Linked DNA regions of Homo sapiens: region 1 is linked to region 2. The links are contacts of gene promoters, found by promoter capture Hi-C in human tissues and cell types (Jung and others, 2019). All regions are on one chromosome and are shown on one strand. The core of a region is centred on a gene start or on the middle of the fragment in contact, and the rest is flanking DNA. Distances in the headings are between cores, read along the strand shown.

Evidence for each region. Contacts are between HindIII fragments. The study calls those that stand out against the background at their distance.
Region 1: a contact is called between a fragment that was not itself captured here and the fragment with the promoter of ATCAY in region 2, in 3 of the 25 tissues and cell types used here (adrenal gland, dorsolateral prefrontal cortex and mesenchymal stem cells).

Annotation. Positions count from the first base shown.
Region 1 is chr19:3,842,879-3,848,570 of GRCh38, reverse strand. The region is part of intron 1 of ZFR2 (zinc finger RNA binding protein 2); the gene reads left to right. Among named protein-coding and RNA genes, the nearest start is that of ZFR2, 23 kb to the left of the region's middle. RefSeq lists an enhancer at 4,841-5,340. The HindIII fragment of the contact is 7,455 bases long and covers 300-5,692 here.
Region 2 is chr19:3,877,901-3,883,400 of GRCh38, reverse strand. ATCAY (ATCAY kinesin light chain interacting caytaxin) reads right to left here and starts at 2,716. Exons shown (of 13, transcript NM_033064.5): 1 at 2,393-2,716. RefSeq lists an enhancer at 2,511-3,041. The HindIII fragment of the contact is 15,458 bases long and covers 1-5,500 here.

The DNA.
Region 1 (5,692 bases), core at 2,778-5,277, 36 kb after region 2:
TGCCTGGCTAATTTTTCTGTTTTGTAGAGATGGGATCTTGCTATGTTGCCCAGGCTGGTCTTAAACTCTTGGGCTCAAGAGATCCTCCCATCTTGGCCTCCCAGAGTGCTGGGATTACAGGTGTGAGACACCACACCTGGCCATGAAAGCTTTTTTCCGAGATGGAGTTTCGCTCTTATTGCCCAGCCTGGAGTGCAATGGCACAGTCTTGGGTCACTGCAACCTCCACCTCCCCCATTCAAGCGATCCTCCTGCCTCAGCCTCCCAAGTAGCTGGGATTACGGGCGCCCGCCACCATGCCTGGCTAATTTTTGCATTTTTAGCAGAGACGGGGTTTCACCATGTTGGCCAGGCTGGTCTCGAACTCCTGACATCAGGTGATCCACCTGCCTCGGCCTCCCAAAGTACTGGGATTACAGGCGTGAGCCACTGTGCCCAGCCATGAAAGCTTTTTATACAAAAGAGGCAGCAGGTCTCAGTCCAAAGGGCTCTAGAGCTGCAACCGTACTTGGATTTCCCTGCCCCTGCACTATATCTTGGGCCGATCATACCCTCTTGTTGAGCTCTGTAGATTGTACAAAACCAAAGAGAGGGCCTGTGGGTGTCCTCCCAGTCTCCATCCTGTCCTGTCTTCTGGCCAGCTTGGTTTGGACTCCGCCCCTCTCCTGTATGTCTCAGGAGAGGGTGGTCCCGGCTCCAGGAGTGGAGCCTGATGATTCTAAATCAGCTCTCCCGGCCTCTTTGCCGTTGACTCTTAGTGCCTTGTGGGTGGTGTAGGGCTCAGGCAGGACAAGAAGCCACTCTAGAATAAGCCTTGGAGCATTGCTTTAATGGCGAAAGATTGGAAACAACGTGAGGCAGTCTAGAAATACGTCTGCAAATTGTTCCCTATGCCTTCCTTCAAAAGGTGAGGCCTGAGCCTCTCCCCGTGTGTGCAGGTCGGATTCGGTGATTCGCTTCTAATTAATGGAATGTGGCAGAAGTTATGCTATATGATTCTTTTTTACAAATATTCTTATTTTCAAAAAATACTTTTTTTTTTCTTTTGAGAAGGAGTCTCGCTCTGTTGCCCAGGCTGGAGTGCAGTAGTGCAATCTCAGCTCACTGCAACCTCTGCCTCCCGGGTTCAAGTGATTCTACTGCTTCAGCCTCCTGAGTAGCTGGGATTACAGGCACGTGCCACCACACCTAGCTAATTTTTGTGTTTTTAGTAGAGATGGGCTTTCACCATGTTGGCCAGGCTAGTCTAGAACCCCTGGGCTTAAGCGATCCTCCTGCCTCTGCCTCCCGAGTAGTTGGGATTACAGGTGTGAGCCACCCCCCTGCCCCCGGCTCTATGAAATGATTCCTGAAGCTGCATCATAACAAGGGCAACTTTCACCTGCTGTGTGTGCCGCCCTCTCCCCTGCTCTCCCTCATATCCCTTGCTCTGGAGGAAGCTGGCCGCCATGTTGTGAGGACACTCAAGCCGTGTGAGGAAAGGCCTGCCTGGGAGGAACAAGGACTGCCACCAACAGTCAGCACCAACTTGCCAACCCTGGCAGGAAGGCATCTTGGAAGCAGATCCTGCTGCCCGCCGCTGACCTCTCATTGGCAACCTCATAAAAGACCCCAAGCCAGAAGCCCGAAGCCCGTCCCAAATTCCTGATCCACAGACACAGTGTTTAAAGCCTCGTTGTTTTGCAAGGTTAATCTATTACTTAGCAGGAGATAACTAACACATAGTATAAATGTCCACCAATCGGATAATAGGTGAATGAATCATGATGTTTTCAAAGTAAACAGTCTTTTCTGTAGAAGTATATTCTGCTTATGTAATTAAGGAAAACAGGTGAATGAATTGTGATATTTTCAAACAAGTAAACAATTATTCTTCTTTTAGAAGCACATTCCGCTTATGTAGTAAGGAAAATGGGAAAAAGGTGAATGAATCGGGACAGTTTCAAACAAGTAAACAGTCTTTTTTTAAAGATGCGTGTTCTGCTTATGTAACTAATCAGTCTTTACATTTGGGAGGCCCAGGGCAGAAGTACAGATGGAAGCCTGCCTACCATATGTCTACATATTTTAACATTACCAACCAAGCTCGCTAAAGTTAAATACAGTATGTTCTGTCCCGCTCACCATGACAAACATACCTTTCTAACAACATACACAAAAACTGTGTGGTGCTGTGGCTTTTCGAGTCGGCAAAACATCAAAGATGGCTGGATTTAATTAGCCCACCCTCCCTATCCATGGGTTCTGCCTCTGTGGATTCAACCAACTGCCGATCAAAAATATTTGGAAAAATGGGCCAGGTGCAGTGGCTCACGCCTGTAATCCCAGCACTGTGGGAGGCTGAGGCGGGTGGATCACCTAAGGTCAGGCGTTCAAGAACAGCCTGGCCAACATGGTGAAACCCCGTCTTTATTAAAAATACAAAAATTAGCCAGGCGTGGTGGCACACGCCTTTAGTCCCAGCTACTTGGGAGACTGAAGCTGGAGAATCACTTGAACCTGGGGGGCAGAGGTTGCAGTGAGCCAAGATTGTGCCATTGCACTCCAGCCTTGGCGACAGAGCAAGACTCCGTTTCAGAAAACAAAAAAGAAAAAGATTTCCATATCATTTCAGTGTATTATGGACATGACCTGAAGCAGCCATCAGGGGCTGAATCCGCGCCCTTTTCCCACACCTTCCTGTGTTGAAGTCCTAACCCTCAGTACCTCTGAATATGCCCGGATTTGGAGACAGGGTCTTGACTTATTTTTAGTTTTTTTCTTTCCTCTTCTTTTTTTGAGACAGGATCTCACTGTTTCCCAGGCTGGAGTGCAGTGGTGTGATCATGGCTCACTGCAGCCTTGACCTCCTGGGCTCCAGTGACCCTCCTTCCTCAGCCTCCTGAGTAGCTGGAACTACAGGTGCACACCACCACGCCTGGCTAATTTTTTTTTTTTTTTTTGTAAAGATGGGGTTTTGTCATGTTGCCCAGGCTGGCCTCAAACTCCTGGGCTCAAGCAGTCCTCCTGCCTCAGCCTCCCAAAGTGCTGGGATTACAAAAGTGTGACCTTGTAGGGACCATGTTGCAGTTTTACCTTTTTTTTTTTTCTTTTTTTGAAATTTTCTTCTTTAATAGAGATAGGGTAGCACTATGTTGCCCAGGCTGGCCTCAAACTCCTGGGTTCAAGCCATCTTCCTGCCTCGGCCTCCCAAAGTGCTGGGATTACAGGTGTGAGGCACCATGACTGGCCCCCCTTTATACTTCTGTAATAAAAAAAAAATTTTGTAGAGACAGGGTCTGACTATGCTGCCCAGTCTAGGGTGCAGTTGGAGAGCCAGGGTCTTTGAAGAGAGAATTAAGTTGAAATGAATTAAACTTAATCAATTTAGCCCAATGCAGAATGGGCCCTAATCCAATCCGACTGGATCCCTGTAAGAAGAGATTAGAACACAGACACGCACAGAGGGACAACCACGTGAGGACACAGGGCAAAGACTGCCGTCTGCAAGCCACAGAGGGACCGGCCCTGCTGACACCTGGATCTAGGACATCCACGCTCCAGAACTGTGAGAATAAATAAGTCTGTGTTGCTGAAGCCACCCAGCTGTGGTACTTGGCCATGACCACCTGGGGCAACCCTGCAGCCCCCTTTCCCAATCAGGGTTCTGCCTGGAAACTGCAGAGCACAGACACTAGCTGCAGAGACTGAGTCCCCCGGGAGTGGGCCACGGGGAGCTCCATTCCAGACTCCAGGGAGGGAGAGGAATTCCTTCCCACGTGGAGGCCTCAGAGTACCAGGCCTCGTTCTCTGCTGGAACCCTGACTCATCTAAAGGATTCAACCACAAGATGCCATTAAACCACAAATGTGCAAAAATTAAATATGTCTTCATTATAAATGCAATTTAAATGTAAAACATTGGGCCAGGCGCAGTGGCTCACACATGTAATCCCAGTACTTTTGGAGGCTGAGGCAGGTGGATCACTTGAGGTCAGGGGTTCAAGATCAGCCTGGCCAACATGGTGGAAACCCCGTCTCTACCAAAAATACAAAAATTAGCCAGGTATGGTGGCAGATGCCTGTAATCCCAGATACTCCGGAGGCCGAGACAGGAGAATCACTTGAACCCAGGAGGTGGAGGTTGCAGTGAGCCGAGATCGCACCACTGCACTCCAGTGTGGGTGACAGAGCAAGATTCTGTCTCAAAAAAAAAAAAGTAAAACATTGAAAAGTTAACTTCATTTGTATGTTTTTTTAAAAGTTACTTTCCTATAATATTCAGAAATTTCTATTAACATTAAAAAGCAAGATAGATGGGTGGAGAGGGGAAGTGATTGGTAGTGGATATGAGGTTTCTTTGCTTTTTATTATGATAAAGTCTAGATAACATAAAATTGACCAGTTTTACCGTTTTATTAATAAGTGCATAGTTCAGTGGCATTAAGCACATTCACGTGGTTGGGGAGCCGTCACCACCATCCATCTCCAGAACTTTCTCATCTTCCCAAACTGAAGCTCTGTCCCCGTGAAACACTCACTCCCCTTCCCCTCCCCGGTCCCTGGCACCCCCCCCCCCACATCCTACTTTCTGTCTCTGTGAATCTGACACCTCTAGGGACCTCCTAGGACTGGAACCACACAGGATTTGTCCTTCTGTGCCTGGCTTCTCTCACTGAGCCTGATGTCCTCACGGTTCATCCACCTTGTAGCCTATGTCAGGACTTGTTTTTTTTCTTTCTTTCTTTTTTGTTTTTTGAGACAGAGTCTTGCTCTGACACCCAGGCTGGAGTGCAGTGGTGTGATCTCTGCTCACTGCAAGCTCCGCCTCCCAGGTTCACGCCATTCTCCTGCCTCAGCCTCCCTAGTAGCTGGGACTACAGGCGCCCGCCACCACGCCCAGCTAATTTCTTTTTGTATTTTTAGTAGAGACAGGGTTTCACCATGTTAGCCAGGATGGTCTCGATCTCCTGACCTCGTGATCTGCCTGCCTCGGCCTCCCAAAGTGCTGGGATTACAGGCGTGAGCCACCGCGCCCGGCCAGGACTTGTTTTCTTTTTAAGGCCGAATCATATTTCACTGTGTGGATGGACCACGTTATGTTCATTCATCCAATTTTTTTGAGACAGAGTCTTGCTCTGTCTCCCAGGCTGGAGTGCAGTGGCGCGATCTCAACTCACTGCAACCTCCACCTCCTGGGTTCAAGCAATCCTCCCAGCTCAGCCTCTTGAGTAGCTGGGATTACAGGCACGCCCCACCAGGCCCAGTTATTTTTTGTATTTTTAGTAGAGACAGGGTTTCACCATGTTGGCCAGGCTGGTCCCGACCTCCTGACCTCAAGTGATCCGCCCGCCTCGGCCACCCGAAGTGCTGGGATCCCAGGCGTGAGCCACCGCGCCCAGCCCATTTATCCACTGATGGACGGTTGGGTTGCTCCTACCTTTTAGCCACTGTGAACAGTGCTGCTGTGAACATTGGTGTAAAATACCTTCTTGAGCCTCTGCTTTCTTTTCCTTTGAGTAGGAACCTAGGAGTGGAATTGCTGAGTCATGAGATAATTCTAGATTTAACTTTCGAGCAACTGCCAGACTGTTTCCACAATGGCTGCACCATTACATTTTCCCTTCTGCTGGGGTTTCATTGTGGGGTCATGAAATGTTCTGAAATGGGCCAGGCACGGTGGCTTACACCTGTAATCCCAGCACTTTGGGAGG
Region 2 (5,500 bases), core at 1,467-3,966:
CTGTCTCTCAACAGCTTCCGAGTAGCTAGATCCACTTTTTTTGTTGTCATTTTTTTTTTGAGACAGAGTCTCGCTCTGTCGCCCAGGCTAGAGTGCAGTGGTGCGATCTCGGCTCACTGCAACCTCCACCTCTTGAGTAGCTTGGACTACAGGCGCGTGCCACCACGTCCAGCTAATTTTTGTATTTTTAGTAGAGATGGGGTTTCACTATATTGGCCAGGCTGGTCTCGAACTCCTGACCTCATGATCCACCTGCCTCCCAAAGTGCTGGGATTACAGGTGTGAGCCACCCTGCCGGGCCACTAGATCCACTTTTTAAAGCGTCTAGGGGCTGGGTGCAGTGGTGCATGCCTGGAATTCCAGCACTTTGGGCAGATCACTTGAGACCAGGGGTTCGAGACCAGCCTGGGCAACACAGCAAGACCCCATCTCTCAAAAAAAAAATACAAAAACTAACCAAGCACAATGGTGGGTGCCTGAGGTCTTAGCTATTCAGGAGGCTGAGGTGGGAGGATTGAGCCCAGAAGGTCAAGACCAGCCTGGGCAACATAGCAAGACACCATCTCTACGAAAAGCAAAAACAAAAACAAAAATTAATTAAATTTGGTGGGTGCCTGAAGTCACAGCTGTTCAGGAGGCTGAGGTGGGAGGATTGCCTGAGCCCAGGAGGTGGAGGCTGCAGTGAGGTATGATTGTGCCACCACATTCCAGCCTGAGCAACAGAGTGAGGTTCTATTTCAGAAAATAAAATAAAATAAAATAAGGCATCTGGCTGGTGCGGTGGCTCACACCTGTAATCCCCAGCACTTTGGGAGGCTGAGATAGGAGGATCGCTTGAGCCTGGAAGGTCAAGACCAGCCTGGGCAACATAGCAAGTCCCCATCTCTTAAAAAAAAAAAAATACAAAAATTAACCAAACATGGTGATGGGTGCCTGGTGCCTGAAGTCCCAGCTATTCAGGAGGCTGAAGTTGGAGGATCGCTTGAGACCAGGAGGTCGAGACTGCAGTGAGCTATGATCATGCCACTGCTTTCCAGCCTGAGCAACAGAGACCCTACTTCAAAAAATAAAATAAAAGATAAAGCATCTGGCTGGGGGCAGTGGCTCACACGTGTAATCCCAGCACTTTGCGAGGATCGCCTGAGCACAGGAGGTTAAGACCAGCCCGGGCAAGATAGCAAGACCCTGTCTCAAAAAAACCAAATACATGAAGCATCTAAGGCCCCCAACTCTCATGGCATCCAGGCTGCCTCTCTGTGGAGTAGGTTACCTGCAGCCCCCCAGCATAGATATCGGGTTTGCATCGGGGACAGGGGACTGTGGCTTAGCAAGGAAGGACCCAGAGGCAGCCTCAGCCAGATGAGGAAGTGGGGGGAGGGGACGGCTAAAACTAGACCCTCCCCCGTACAGGGTGAGCGTTTCTCACTCGATTCTCTGTCCTCAATGTCGTCATTCATGCTTGGAGGAGGGACAGTAACACGCAGCATGGAAAAAAAAAAAATCCCTCCTGGATGCTATGGGGTCGGGGGGGGGGCGGTGGCAGCAGCCAGCCAGGCCCTTCCCGCGAGGGTAAGTTCTCCTCGGCAGTAGAAACGCATTTGCTCTCCGGAGGAAGGGGTCTTCGCCTCTCCCTTCCTTATACTGAGCTGGGTGTGACCTCAGCCCCCAGGAACACTCCCACCAGCCCCGCCCCCGACCCCCACCCCCTGCCAGCTGCAGCCACAGGCGTTGACTCCACAGTCTTCTAAGGATGGGGTGGGGTGGGTCCTCAGTGGGCCCCGGACACTCCTGCACTCAGATCCTGGCTTCGCATTTGGGGACGGCCAAAAGAAGACAGTGACATCAAGGAACGGGAGTGAAGCGCTCATTTGAGCCCTGATGTCTGATTATTAACAAATCACATACGAGTTCCAATAAGGAGGAGGCATCTGTGTCTTAAACCATAAACCACCCCCTTCCTCCCCACCCCACAGGACAGCCTTTATCGACACACTTAGATTTTTTTTTTTTTTTTTTCCCGAAATCGTCGGCTGGTGGCCTTCCTAGCGTTATAAATAGGAAATACATAGGGCTAGGATGGGTCTATTTCAGCGTCCCAGAGAGAAGCTGAGGTTTTCATCCGCCCGAGCTCTCAGCGTGTCCTGAAAATGGTGCACTTAGAGGGGAACGGTGCGCGCGGAAGGTAAACTGTGTTGCTGGGCGCAGCTCAGGGAACGGTTTTCCCTGGTACCGGGAACAGGGATGTGAGGGCCTTCACGGAGTCACAAGACCGTGGCTCTCTGCTCCCACCCGCCCCATCTGCTGGAAAGGGATTTAGAGGCGGCAAAGGCTGCCGGATAAACCTTCCAGGGAGACGGTTTATCCTGGGAGAAGGGGAGATGCGCGCACTCACCTCTGCAGCTGAGACAGCCTCTCCTCCTTACTGGCAAACAAAGGCGAGCCCTGCCCGGGTGCAGCTGGGCATCGCTCACGCTCCCCGGGCCTTCAGAGCCTAGGAGGAAGAGGATGCTCGCAGGGGCGGATTCTGCATCCGAGGAAGGTCACCCAGGGCGACGTGGCCAGCGCCCGCCAGCTCTTTTGTGCAGGGGTGGGTGGGGTGCAGGGTTAGCGGTGGGCTCCCCAGCGCGGGGCTGCGGCTGCGCCCCCTCTCATCGCCGCCCGCCTGCGCGCCCTGCCTCCGAGGTAGCTGCTTCTTCCCAGCTCAGGGCTGGCAGAGGCTCGGCTTCCCGAAGACGGTTAATTTATGCTGCTTTTGTGTGCAGGGAGGAGGGGGTGGGGGGTGGCGGCCTGACGGAAAAGCACAGCCCCCTGCCAGAATCCGATCCTCCCCATTGGCTGACAGACAAGCATCTCCGAAAGCCACGCCAGGGGCAGAGGCAGAAATAATTTTCTGATGGCGCATCAGAGATTTAAAAACAAAACAACGGACAAATAAATAAATAAATGGCAAGATGGCCTCATTCCTTAGAGAATGGGGGGTGGGGGAGTTGGGAAAGGTCTTCTTGGCACTTCTCCTTGCAAAGGGAGCAGGGGTGAGGGGTGGCATCCCCCAAAAAGTCTGTGCAGGCAAAGAAATGACTGTCCCCAGGTCGGATGCCATGGCTCACGCCTGTAATCCCAGCACTTTCGGAGGCCGAGGAGGGAGGATCACCTGAAGTCAGGAGTTCGATACCAGCCTGGCCAACATGGTGAAACCCCGTTTCTACTGAAAATACAAAAATTAGCCAGGCGTGGTGGCGTGCGCCTGTAATCCCAGCTACTCGGGAGGCTGAGGCAGGAGAATCGCTTGAACCTGGGAGGCGGAGGTTGCAGTGAGCCGAGATGGCGCCACTGCACTGCAGCCTGGGCGGCAGAGGGAGACTCTGTCTCAAAGAAAAAAAAAAAAAAAGAAAGAAATGACTGTCCCCAGGTCACCGTGTTGTGGGTCCATTAGATGGTCACTTACCATTGATTCAGCCTCGTGCCCTAAACAGGGCTGGGTGCAGGGGAGGCGGAAGTTTCTCAGGCACACTCACTTTGCAGGGCTGCTGTGGGAACGGCGCCCCCTGCAGTTGTGCGCTGGCGTGGCCTCGCCCTGGAGGAATTCAAGGAGACTGTGGAAGATGGTAGGGTGGAGAGTGCAGGCCGTGCAGTCGGACTGGAAGTGGGTTTGAACTCTAGCCCAGCCACTCCCCAGCTGGCAGACCAGTGGGCATGAGTGATCTCACCTGCGGGCCTCAGTTTTTCTCATCTGTGAAATGGAGCCGCTATGGCTTTTCCACATTATGAGATAATGCATAGACAGCACTAAACACAGTGCTGGGGCACAAGAAAAGCTCCCTATGTGTTTCTTTCTCTTTCTTTCTTTCTTTCTTTCTTTCTTTCTTTCTTTCTTTCTTTCTTTCTTTCTTTCTTTTTTTTTTTTTTTTAGGTGGAGTCTCGCTCTGTTGCCAGGCTGGAGTACAGTGGTGCGATCTTGGCTCACTGCAACCTCCGACTCCCAGGTTCAAGTGGTTCTCCTCCCTCAGCCTCCCAAGTAGCTGGGATTACAGGCACACACCACCACACCTGGCTAATTTTTTTTTTGTATTTTTAGTAGAGGCGGGGTTTCAACATGTTGGCCAGGCTGGTCTCGAACTCCTGACTTCAGGTGATCCGCCCACCTTGGCCTCCCAAAGTGCTGGGATTAGAGGTGCGAATCACTGTGCTCGGCCTATATGTATTTCTTGCTATTGCTGTTTTTAATGTTTATTTTATTTACTTATTTTTTTAAGAAACAGGAGTTTTCCCTGTCATCCAGGCTGGAGTGCAATGGCACAATCACAGCTCGCTGCAGTCTTGAACTCCCGGGCTCAGGTGATCCTTACACCTCTTTCTCTCCAGTGGTTGAGACTACAGGCTCCTACCACCACGCCCTGCTAATCTGTGTAATTTTTGTAGAAATAGGGTATCTCTCTATTGCCCAGGCTGGTCTTGAATTCTTGGGCTCAAGTGAGCCTCTCATCTCAGCCTCGAAAAATGTTGGGATTATAGGTGTGAGCCACCGTGCCTGACCCACAGCACTTACTATTAATTGAAATTATTTACACTTTTTTGTTGTTGTTGTTGATTCTCTGCTCCTCCTTATTAGAATATACTGGGTTTTGTTTTGTTTTGTTTTGTTTTGAGACAGAGACTTGCTCTGTTTCCCAGGCTGGAGTGCAGTGGTGTGATCTCAGCTCACCGCAACCTCCTCCTCCTCTCAGGTTCAAGCGATTCTCATGCCTCAGCCTCCCAAGCATCTGGGACTACAGGCATGCACCACCACACCCAGCTATTTTTTTTATTTTTGGTAGAAACGGGGTTTCACCATGTTGGCCAGGCTGGTCTTAAACTCCTGACCTCAGGCAACCTGCCCACCTTGGCCTCCCAAAGTGTTGGGATTACAGGCGTGAGCCACCGCACCTGGCCAGAATATACATTTTCGAAGAGCAGAGGCTCGGTTGTTCTTATGCACCACACGTTCTCCGCACAAGGTAGCAACTCCTGGTCCAAAGCTGTTCAGGAGACGCAGGCAGAGTGCATGAAGGCTGGCTCCCTTCATGACATTCAATGACACCCCACCTAGGCTGGCAGCCTCACCCGCTGCATGGAGGTCTGCACTCTTCCGAGGCATAAAGGTAACCTGCCCACAGCAGAGGCAGAAAGCCCTGATGGGGAAGCAGAGGCCCCAGAGACTTTAGCACAAGGTTGGGACTTCCCATCTCCTGGCTGGAGAAAATGGAGGTCTTGTAAGAGACACTTGTGTTAACTGAGGGGTGGATTCGATGAGTCCCTGTGCTGGGCACTGGGCACAAGATATGAGTAATTCCCATTACTGGCAAACAAAGGCGAGCCCTGCCTGGGTGCAGCGGGCATCTCTCAGGCTCCCCAGGCCTTCAGAGCATTGGAGGAAGAGGATGCCTGAAGGAGTGGATTCTGCATCCGAGGAAGGTTGCAAGGCGATATGGCTAGTGCCCACCAGCTCTTTTGTGCAGGGGTG